Regions from separate parts of the Homo sapiens genome. Here regions 1 and 2 are each linked to region 3. Evidence: promoter capture Hi-C in 16 types of primary human blood cells and fetal thymus (Javierre and others, 2016). All regions are on one chromosome and are shown on one strand. Each heading gives the region's core, a stretch centred on a gene start or on the middle of the fragment in contact. The rest is flanking DNA. Distances are from core to core; before and after follow the strand shown. Region 1 overlaps KATNBL1 (katanin regulatory subunit B1 like 1). Region 2 overlaps KATNBL1 (katanin regulatory subunit B1 like 1). Region 3 holds the start of LPCAT4 (lysophosphatidylcholine acyltransferase 4).

Evidence for each region. Contacts are between HindIII fragments. The CHiCAGO score rates a contact against its expected background, and 5 or more counts as called.
Region 1: a contact is called between a fragment that was not itself captured here and the fragment with the promoter of LPCAT4 in region 3, in 1 of 17 cell types (neutrophils). The highest score is 5.1, in neutrophils.
Region 2: a fragment that was not itself captured here is called in contact with the fragment with the promoter of LPCAT4 in region 3 in 1 of 17 cell types (neutrophils); the score reaches 5.3 in neutrophils.

What each region holds. Positions count from the first base shown.
Region 1 is chr15:34,145,990-34,148,689 of GRCh38, reverse strand. It overlaps KATNBL1 (katanin regulatory subunit B1 like 1), which reads left to right. Exons shown (of 10, transcript NM_024713.3): 5 at 1-58; 6 at 1,260-1,310; 7 at 1,401-1,490; 8 at 1,840-1,929. Among named protein-coding and RNA genes, the nearest start is that of PGBD4, 45 kb to the right of the region's middle. The HindIII fragment of the contact is 4,046 bases long and covers 1-2,700 here.
Region 2 is chr15:34,191,731-34,194,430 of GRCh38, reverse strand. The region is part of intron 1 of KATNBL1 (katanin regulatory subunit B1 like 1); the gene reads left to right. Among named protein-coding and RNA genes, the nearest start is that of KATNBL1, 17 kb to the left of the region's middle. The HindIII fragment of the contact is 4,650 bases long and covers 1-2,700 here.
Region 3 is chr15:34,365,946-34,368,645 of GRCh38, reverse strand. It overlaps LPCAT4 (lysophosphatidylcholine acyltransferase 4), which reads left to right and starts at 1,450. Exons shown (of 14, transcript NM_153613.3): 1 at 1,450-1,659. The coding sequence starts at 1,546. RefSeq lists enhancers at 406-695, 295-1,290 and silencers at 1,066-1,115, 1,246-1,705, 1,826-1,875, 1,956-2,045. The HindIII fragment of the contact is 20,785 bases long and covers 1-2,700 here.

The DNA.
Region 1 (2,700 bases), core at 38-2,537, 220 kb after region 3:
TAGCTTTAACTTTCTGGAGAAAGAGAAGTATAAGTGAACTTGTAGCTTATTTGTTGAGGTAAGTGTGACCTTTTATCCTCTTTGTTCAATCACTTTTTTTCTGAGACAAGTTCTTGCTTTGTCATCCAAGTTGGAGTACAGTGGCACAATCATGGCTCACTGCAGCCTCAACCTGCTGAGTTCAAGCAGCCCTCCCACCTCAGCCTCCTGAGTAGCTGAGAGTACAGGTGCACATCACCACACCTGGCTATTTTTTAAAAAAATTTTTTGGAAGACATGAGGTCTTATGTTTCCCGGGCTGGTCTCGAACTCCTGAGCTCAGGTGAACCTTCTTCATTATTCTAAACTGCCTATATGTAGCTTCAGTAGAGACAGTATGGCTTAAATTACATTCCTCACCCATCTAAGAGTAACCAAAATACAGAAAACAATGTTTTATCAGATTGAACAAAGCTGTTACCTTTCCTGACTGTCATTCTTACCTATAAAACTAAGAGATAACGATATGGGAAAACTAACCTTCTAAAAATCCCTTTTGAGGCCAGGTGTGGCAGTTCTTGCCTATAATCCCAGCATTTGGGAAGGTTGAGGTGAGAGAGTCCCTTGAGCCCAGGAGTGAGAGACTGAGCAACATAGCAAGACTCCATCTCTACAAAAAATAAAAATAATAAGCCAGGCACAGTGGTACGTGCTTGTGGTCCCAGATACTTGGGAAGATCACTTTGAACCCAGGAGTTGGAGGTTGCAGTAAGCTGTGATTATGCAACTACATTCCAGCCTGGGCAACCGAATGAGACCCGTTTCTTAAAAAAAAAATTACTAAAAATAAAAAGTAAACATCCCTTTTGAGTGGGAATTTGAAGCATTACTTTCCTCATTGTATTCAAGTCTCTCAGATGTTACCTTAGGGAAGCCTTCTTTGACCAACTTATTTTAAAATACCTATTTCTCCACTCCCTATCTCGCTTTCCTGTTTTATTTTTCTCCATAGCACTTATATCAACCTGCTCTATATGTCTTATGTCTTGTTATTTGTTTATTGCCTGTCTCTGTCCCACCCCCCAACCCCCACAGTTGCTCACACACTGGAATACAAGCCCTGTGTCTTTGTTCATTGCTGTATCCACAGACATGACTCATTGTAGATACTGACATTGTTAAATGAATGAATTTCTCAAAAGCGGTGTGAATAATCATAATATGAAAGTAAATAAGGAAATCAGCTCTCTAAGGCAATGCTATTCTTTTTATACTCTCAGGATAGAAGATCTTGGCGTTGTGGTAGATTGCCTTCCTGTGCTCACCAATTGGTAAAAACAATATTTTTCAGAAAAAAAATAAGATTAAAGGAGGTCAAATTATGGCCCATCCATATTTTTATAACTTGGTATTTATTTTAGTTTACAGGAAGAAAAACAATATATCTCACTTGGCTGCTGTGTTGACTTGTTGCCTCTAGTAAAGTCACTACTTAAAAGCAAATTTGAAGAGTAAGTGCTAATCTGAATCTTGATTCATTTTTCTTTTTCAGCATCCTTGATTTTGTGCTTTGTGAGTACATAGTAGATTGGGCTCCATGAGACATGCAAGGTTTCTGTTTTCAAGAAGCTAATAGTACAATTAGGAAAAGAATATGAAATGACTAAAGGACAATTATAAAAGCATCTCTAAACAAATTACATGAAATATACTTTTGTGTAATAGATCATGAAGGTAACAATTTTTTAAAAGGGAAGGGACCAATGTGTGTGTGTGTTTTTTGGGAGGGAAAGTATCATCTTTTATAAGAAGGGTTCTTAGATGAAAACACTTGAATTTTGTAACAAAATGTCATTTCAGATATGTTATAGTTGGTTTAAACTGGCTTCAAGCAGTCATTAAAAGGTGGTGGTCAGAACTATCATCCAAAACAGAAATTATAAATGATGGGTGAGTATACCTTTAAAGATAAACTCATGCTGAAATTTTCTTCAGGAAAGCAGCTTGATTAAACTAGGTAATAATTTTATCCCATTATCATCAGTGTATGGTATTTATTCTTTTTATATTCAGAGAGATACTAACTTAAGAGACTGTTCATTTGTGAAAACCACACCTGGAAATTGAATTCCAGAGCCTACTAACCTCCTGTATCTCTTCTTCTGGCACAACCCTACCCTTCATTTTAGAAGAAAAACACAATAGTGGTTTAATTCTCATATTCATTATGAGTAAGGGAGGAAAAAGAGATGCCCACAGTGTAATAAGGAATGGAGGCACCCTGCGGGGTCCTTTACCTAGACATTAACCTGAGAGTCCGGTGTTGATGTTTACAGTTCTAAAAACTGTATTATTACTGCCTTGATGTGAAAATTCGTGGGTATTCTACCAGAGTATAGCCAGATTATCATGAAACCACAGAAAAATATCTCCCAACAGTTTCCTTAAAGTCCATAATTTTGGGCCAGGCACGGTGGCTGATGCCTGTCTGTAATCCCAGCACTTTGGGAGGCCAAGAAGGGCAAATCACTTGAGCTCACAAGTTTGAGACAGCCTGGGCAACATGATGACATCCCGTCTCTACAAAAAATACAAAAATTAGCCAGGCATGGTGGTGTGCGCCTGTAGTCCCAGCTACTCAGGCTGAGGCAGGAGGATCGCTTGAGCCCAGGAGGTGGAGGTTGCAGTAAGCCGAGATGGCACCACTGCACTCCAGCCTGG
Region 2 (2,700 bases), core at 46-2,545, 170 kb after region 3:
CAGTATGTTGCCCAGGCTGGCCTCAAACTCATGGGCTCAAGTGCTACTCCCGCCTTGGCCTTTCAAAGTGCTAGAATTACAGGTATGACCCACTGCACCTGGCCCTAAATCATATTTTCAAAAAAAAATCTTTTAACATGTAGGAAAATATAATATTAATGACAAAATGCAGCATATAAAACTAAACTGCAGGCTGGGTGCAGTGGCTCACGCCTATAATCCCACCACTTTGTGAGCCCAAGGCAGGTGGATCATGAGGACAGGAGTTCGAGACCAGCCTGGCCAATATGGAGAAACCCCGTCTCTACTAAAAATACAAAAATAAGCCAGGCATGGTGGCGTGCACCTGTAGTCCCAGCTGCTCGGGAGGCCAAGGCAGAAGAATCGCTTGAAGCCAGGAGGCGGACGTTGTGGTGAGCCGAGATCGTGCCACTGCATTCCAGTCTGGGCAACAGAGCAAGACTCCATCTCAAAAAAATAAAAAACGACAAAGAAAAACTAAACTGCATGGGAGGAAAAGTGGTTGAATTACTGGTGATTTTGCTGGTGATTTTTTTTTTTTTTTTTTTTTTTTTTTTTGAGACAGGGCCTTTCTCTGTCACCCACGCTGGAGTACAGTGGTGCAATTTTGGCTCACTGCAGCCTCAACCTCCTGGGCTCAAGCGACCCTCCTGCCTCAGCGTCCTGAGTAGCTGGGACTACTGGTGTGCACCACTATGCCCGGCTAATTTTTGTATGTTTTGTAGAGACAGGGTTTCACCACGTTGCCCAGGCAGGTCTCAAACTCCTGGGCTCAAGCGACCCAACTGCATTTGTCTCCCAAATTGCTAGGATTACAGGAATGAGTTATCATGCCCAGCCTACTGGTGATATTTTAATTAATTAATTTATTTTTTGAGACAAGAGTCTTGCTCTGTTTCCCAGGCTGGAGTGCAGTGGCGCCATCTCTGTTCACTGCAACCTCCGCATCCCAGGTTCAGGCGATTCTTGTGTCTCAGCCTCCTGAATAGCTGAGATTACAGACGTATGCCACCACGCCTGCCTAATTTTTGTATTTTTAGTAGAGATGGGATTTTGCCATATTGGCCAGGCTGGTTTCAAACTCCTGGCCTCAAGTGATATGCCTGCCTCAGCCTCCCAAAGTGCTGGGATTACAGGCATGATCCACTGCATCTGGCCTTAAGTTTTTTTTTTGTTTTTTTTTTTTTTTTTTTGAGACGGAGTCTCGCTCTGTCGCCCAGGCTGGAGTGCAGTGGCGCGATCTCGGTTCACTGCAAGCTCCGCCTCCCGGGTTGACGCCATTCTCCTGCCTCAGCCTCCCGAGTAGCTGGGACCACAGGCGCCCGCCACTACGCCCGGCTAATTTTTTGTATTTTTAATAGAGGCGGGGTTTCACTGTGTTAGCCAGGATGGTCTCGATCTCCTGACCTCATGATCCGCCCGCCTCTGCCTCCCAAAGTGCTGGGATTACAGGCGTGAGCCACCGCGCCCGGCAAGCCTTAAGTTATTTTTAAAGTAATACTTATGAGATGCAAAATTTGGTATAAAGAGGACATAAAGTAAAAACGTTTAATACTGTTGATCCCCAGCTCCCAGGTTCACCTTTGTGGAAGCATTCAGTGATTGCTGGGGGATATTCTAAAAGGAGAGAGATTATTTTTTCCATATTTATTCCTGATTTTTTCTTCTTCTATGCATCCTTCTCCCTATACCCAAATCCAGGAGTATGGAGTGGGAAGGAGGGACAGCACGTAGTCTTTCTACACACGTCTGTTTTTGTTTCTGTCTCTTCTCCCTCCCCGGACTTTCACATTACTTACTGAAACAAAGTCGATTTCGTATACAGTCATTGAAGAGACCACCACCCTCTAGGCCTAAAAGCAAGAGACATGCCATTTTCTCTGTATCATTGCAGAGCATTGCCGTAAATATGTATGTCTCCCATGAATTGGCTTTGTTCACTGAAATAGTCTGGTATCCTATTTCTTGTAACTTACAGGAATTGTTTTTGTTTTTTTTTTTTTTTTGAGATGGAGTCTCACTCTGTCGCCCAGGCTTGAGTGCAGTGGCGCCATCTCTGCTCACTGCAACCTCTGCCTCCTGGGTTCAAGCAATTCTCCTGCTTCAGCCTCCTGAGTAGCAGGGATTACAGGCACGTGCCACCACACCTGTCTCATTTTTTGTACTTTTAGTAGAGACAGGGTTTCACCGTGTTAGCTGGGATGGTCTCGATCTCCTGACCTGGTGATCCACCTGCCTCGGCCTCCAAAAGTGCTGGGATTACAGGCTTGAGCCACTGCGCCTGACTGAATTTTTAATCATATAAAAAAGCAGAGAGGATAGTATAATAAACTTTACAATTACCCAGCTTCAGCAATTATCAACATATCTTACTTCGTTGATACTCCCTATTCTGTGCAAATCCTAAATGTAATCTCATTTTATCTGTAGGATGGATTTTTTTTTTTTTTTTTTTTGAGATGGAGTCTCACTGTGTGCTCTGTGGCCCAGGCTGGAGTGTAGTGGTGCAATCTCGGCTCACTGCAAGCTCTGCCTCCCAGGTTCACTCCATTCTCCTGCCTCAGCCTCTCAAGTAGCTGGGACTACAGGCGCCCGCCACCACGCCCAGCTAATTTTTTGTGTTTTTAATAGAAACGGGGTTTCACCGTGTTAGCCAGGATGGTCTTGATCTCCTGACCT
Region 3 (2,700 bases), core at 201-2,700:
CACACACACACACACACACACACACACACACAAACTTCTCCCCAAAGGCAAGGCAAGGGAGACTAATACATGCAGTTGTACTTTCTCGGTTCTGGTGAGAAAGCTGAAATCATCTGCTTAAAAAAAAAAGGTTTGGGTTGTACATGGCGGCTCACTACCTGTAGTCCCAACAGTTTGGAAGGCCGAGGTGGGAGGCTCACTTGAGGCTAGGAGTTCGAGACCAGCCTGGGCAATATAGCGAGACCCTATCTATACAAAAATAAAATGTGGAAATGATGTATTTGTGTTGGGACCTCTGTGTTATATACAAAAACATCCCAGTGCAGCTCCTTGGTCTCAGTAGGATGCATGAGCCTTCAACCCTCTCAGCCTGGGCTCAGAAAATTTCCTGGAGCAGATTAATTTGGAGTTTGGTTTAAAGGAGAAGCCAGTGGCGGCAAACACTCTTGGTTATGAGAGGTCTCTTTTTCTTTCACTTTCTTCCTTCAGCTCCCCTAACTGCCATGCAATGGGCAGAAGACATAAAGTGAACTTAAGGCGTATTCTTTCCTCAAGCAATGAGACTCTTACCCCTTTTGTCATGGCAATGGATCTCAGAGTCCACTTAATTCCCTGGTCCCTGATCTCAAACGATGGCCTGAGGCTAAACAATTTGTTTTCTAGGGTAGCTTGGAGCTTGTGGGTGAGGGGAATTACTACTGTGTCCTCTGCGTTCACCCAGAGAGTGACAGAGATCAGGAACCACTGCCTCTCCCCTGCCAGACCTTGTCGGGCTCATGGGAAGCACATGCGTCAGTGTACTAGGGATTCCTGGCGCCTCAAGGGTTCAAGCAACCCTCACACCAGTAAAGGCGGCCCTGCCTAGCACAGGCAGGACGCGGAGGTGGAGAGTTGCGGGGCGCCATGCAGCCGCCAGAGGACGCAAGTGCCTCAAGTCCCCGCGCGATGGCGCCCCACGGACCGGGAAGGAAAGGTGGTCCGCCTGCGAGGAGGCGCGGACCGGGCCAAGGAGCCCATAGGAAGAGCGGGGCGCCGCCTCACCCGCGAGCTGCCGGCCTCTGCATCCGGCCCACCTGTCCCTCCCTGCCTACCAACCCAAGAGCCTCACCCCGATCTGCGCTTGCTGGGTGACCTCGACGCCCGGGCGGGGACAGAGGGCGCTCTGAGCTCTGCGCTCAGCTCCCAGACCCACTCCCACTCCGAGGCGGAGGCCAGGTCTTCAGAGAGGAACGACGGAGGCGCAGAAGCCCAGGGGCAGCCCGCTCCAGCCCTGGCAGCCGCGGAACAATGGCCCGAGCGGCTGCGGGCGCCGCGGCGGGCGCGGAGGAGCAGGGGCGCCAGGGCGCTGGAAGCCCCGCCCCTCGGCCGGCGCCCTGACAACGCGGGCGGGCTGGGCTGCGCCGCCTGCTCCCCGCCCCTCGGCCGCCTGCACCGGGCGGGGCCCGGGCCAGAGCGCCGCCGCCGCCGCTGCTGCAGCAGCAGCTGCTCTGCAGAGTGGTGGCCGGGGCCAGGGCCGGGGTGCCCTCCCTCCCACCTTCTCCCGCCATGAGCCAGGGAAGTCCGGGGGACTGGGCCCCCCTAGATCCCACCCCCGGACCCCCAGCATCCCCCAACCCCTTCGTGCATGAGTTACATCTCTCTCGCCTCCAGAGGGTTAAGGTAATGTGTGGGGAGCGGGCGTCGGAAGGACCCGTGAGGATAGGAAAATGGGGCCATTTGAGCCCTGGCAAAGGTGGGCTTGGGGATCCACGAGAAGGAGATGGCTGAGAGGCTTGCGGAGCGGGAGTCCGGGGGTGCGCACGTGGGGGCGGCCGCGGTTGGGCAAGGAGTCCTGGAGAGGACGCTGCGGGCTTGGGCGATAGACAAGCTCGAAGATGTGGAAAAACTGAGTAGGTGGGGATGGAGGGCTGCAGGGGACCCTGGGGTTGGAGAGATGAAGGACGCTGGGGAATGCGGATTACATTCTGCAGAGCCTGATGGCTAGGATGGAGTTAGAGTCTACGGGAAGCCGGGGGTGGGGGCGGGGGCGGGGGCGTGCCGAGTATTCCTCCGAGGCATGACTTAGAGGGAAGACGTTTCTGGGCCGGGAGCCTGCGACCCTGTGCCCTTCCTACACTCCCTCTTCCCACTCCCTCCAACCCCCCTCCACCCCGCACTGCAGCACCTCCCGGTGGGGGCAGGGAGGCTGAGAGGGAGGTTGGCTACAGGAAGTGGAGGGCCGCGCCAGCCTAGGGGAGCTGGGAGGTGGTGTGGGGAGGGAGTGTCCAAGGTTTCTGCTGTCATCACCTCCCCGGAGGCAGGCTCCAGGGGCTAGGTTTGCTTACCTGCTTCTTCCCCAAGGCAGCCTATGGAGTCATCCTGGCTCCTGGCAGCCTCTCTCCCTTGCAGAGTGGGGCCGAGCTCTTGTCTCCCATATCCCCCGGTACTCTAAGATTGCTGTTGAGCAGTGTCAGAAAATGACCTCGGGTCTGAAAACTGGACCTCTGGCTGTTTACAGCCCTCTGCCTCCTAGGCCCAAAGTGGAAAGATCTGTGCACCTGGTTTCTGTTGGGCATAGGAGCTATTTATGGAATAAGATGTGGGGGAGGAGGACCTGTCTCTAACCTACTGTACATCAAGCACAGCGCCCTGCACTTTCGCATGCATTCTTATTAAATCCTCTAAGTGCTAGATGCTTTTTATGGCTTTCGGTTTTATAAA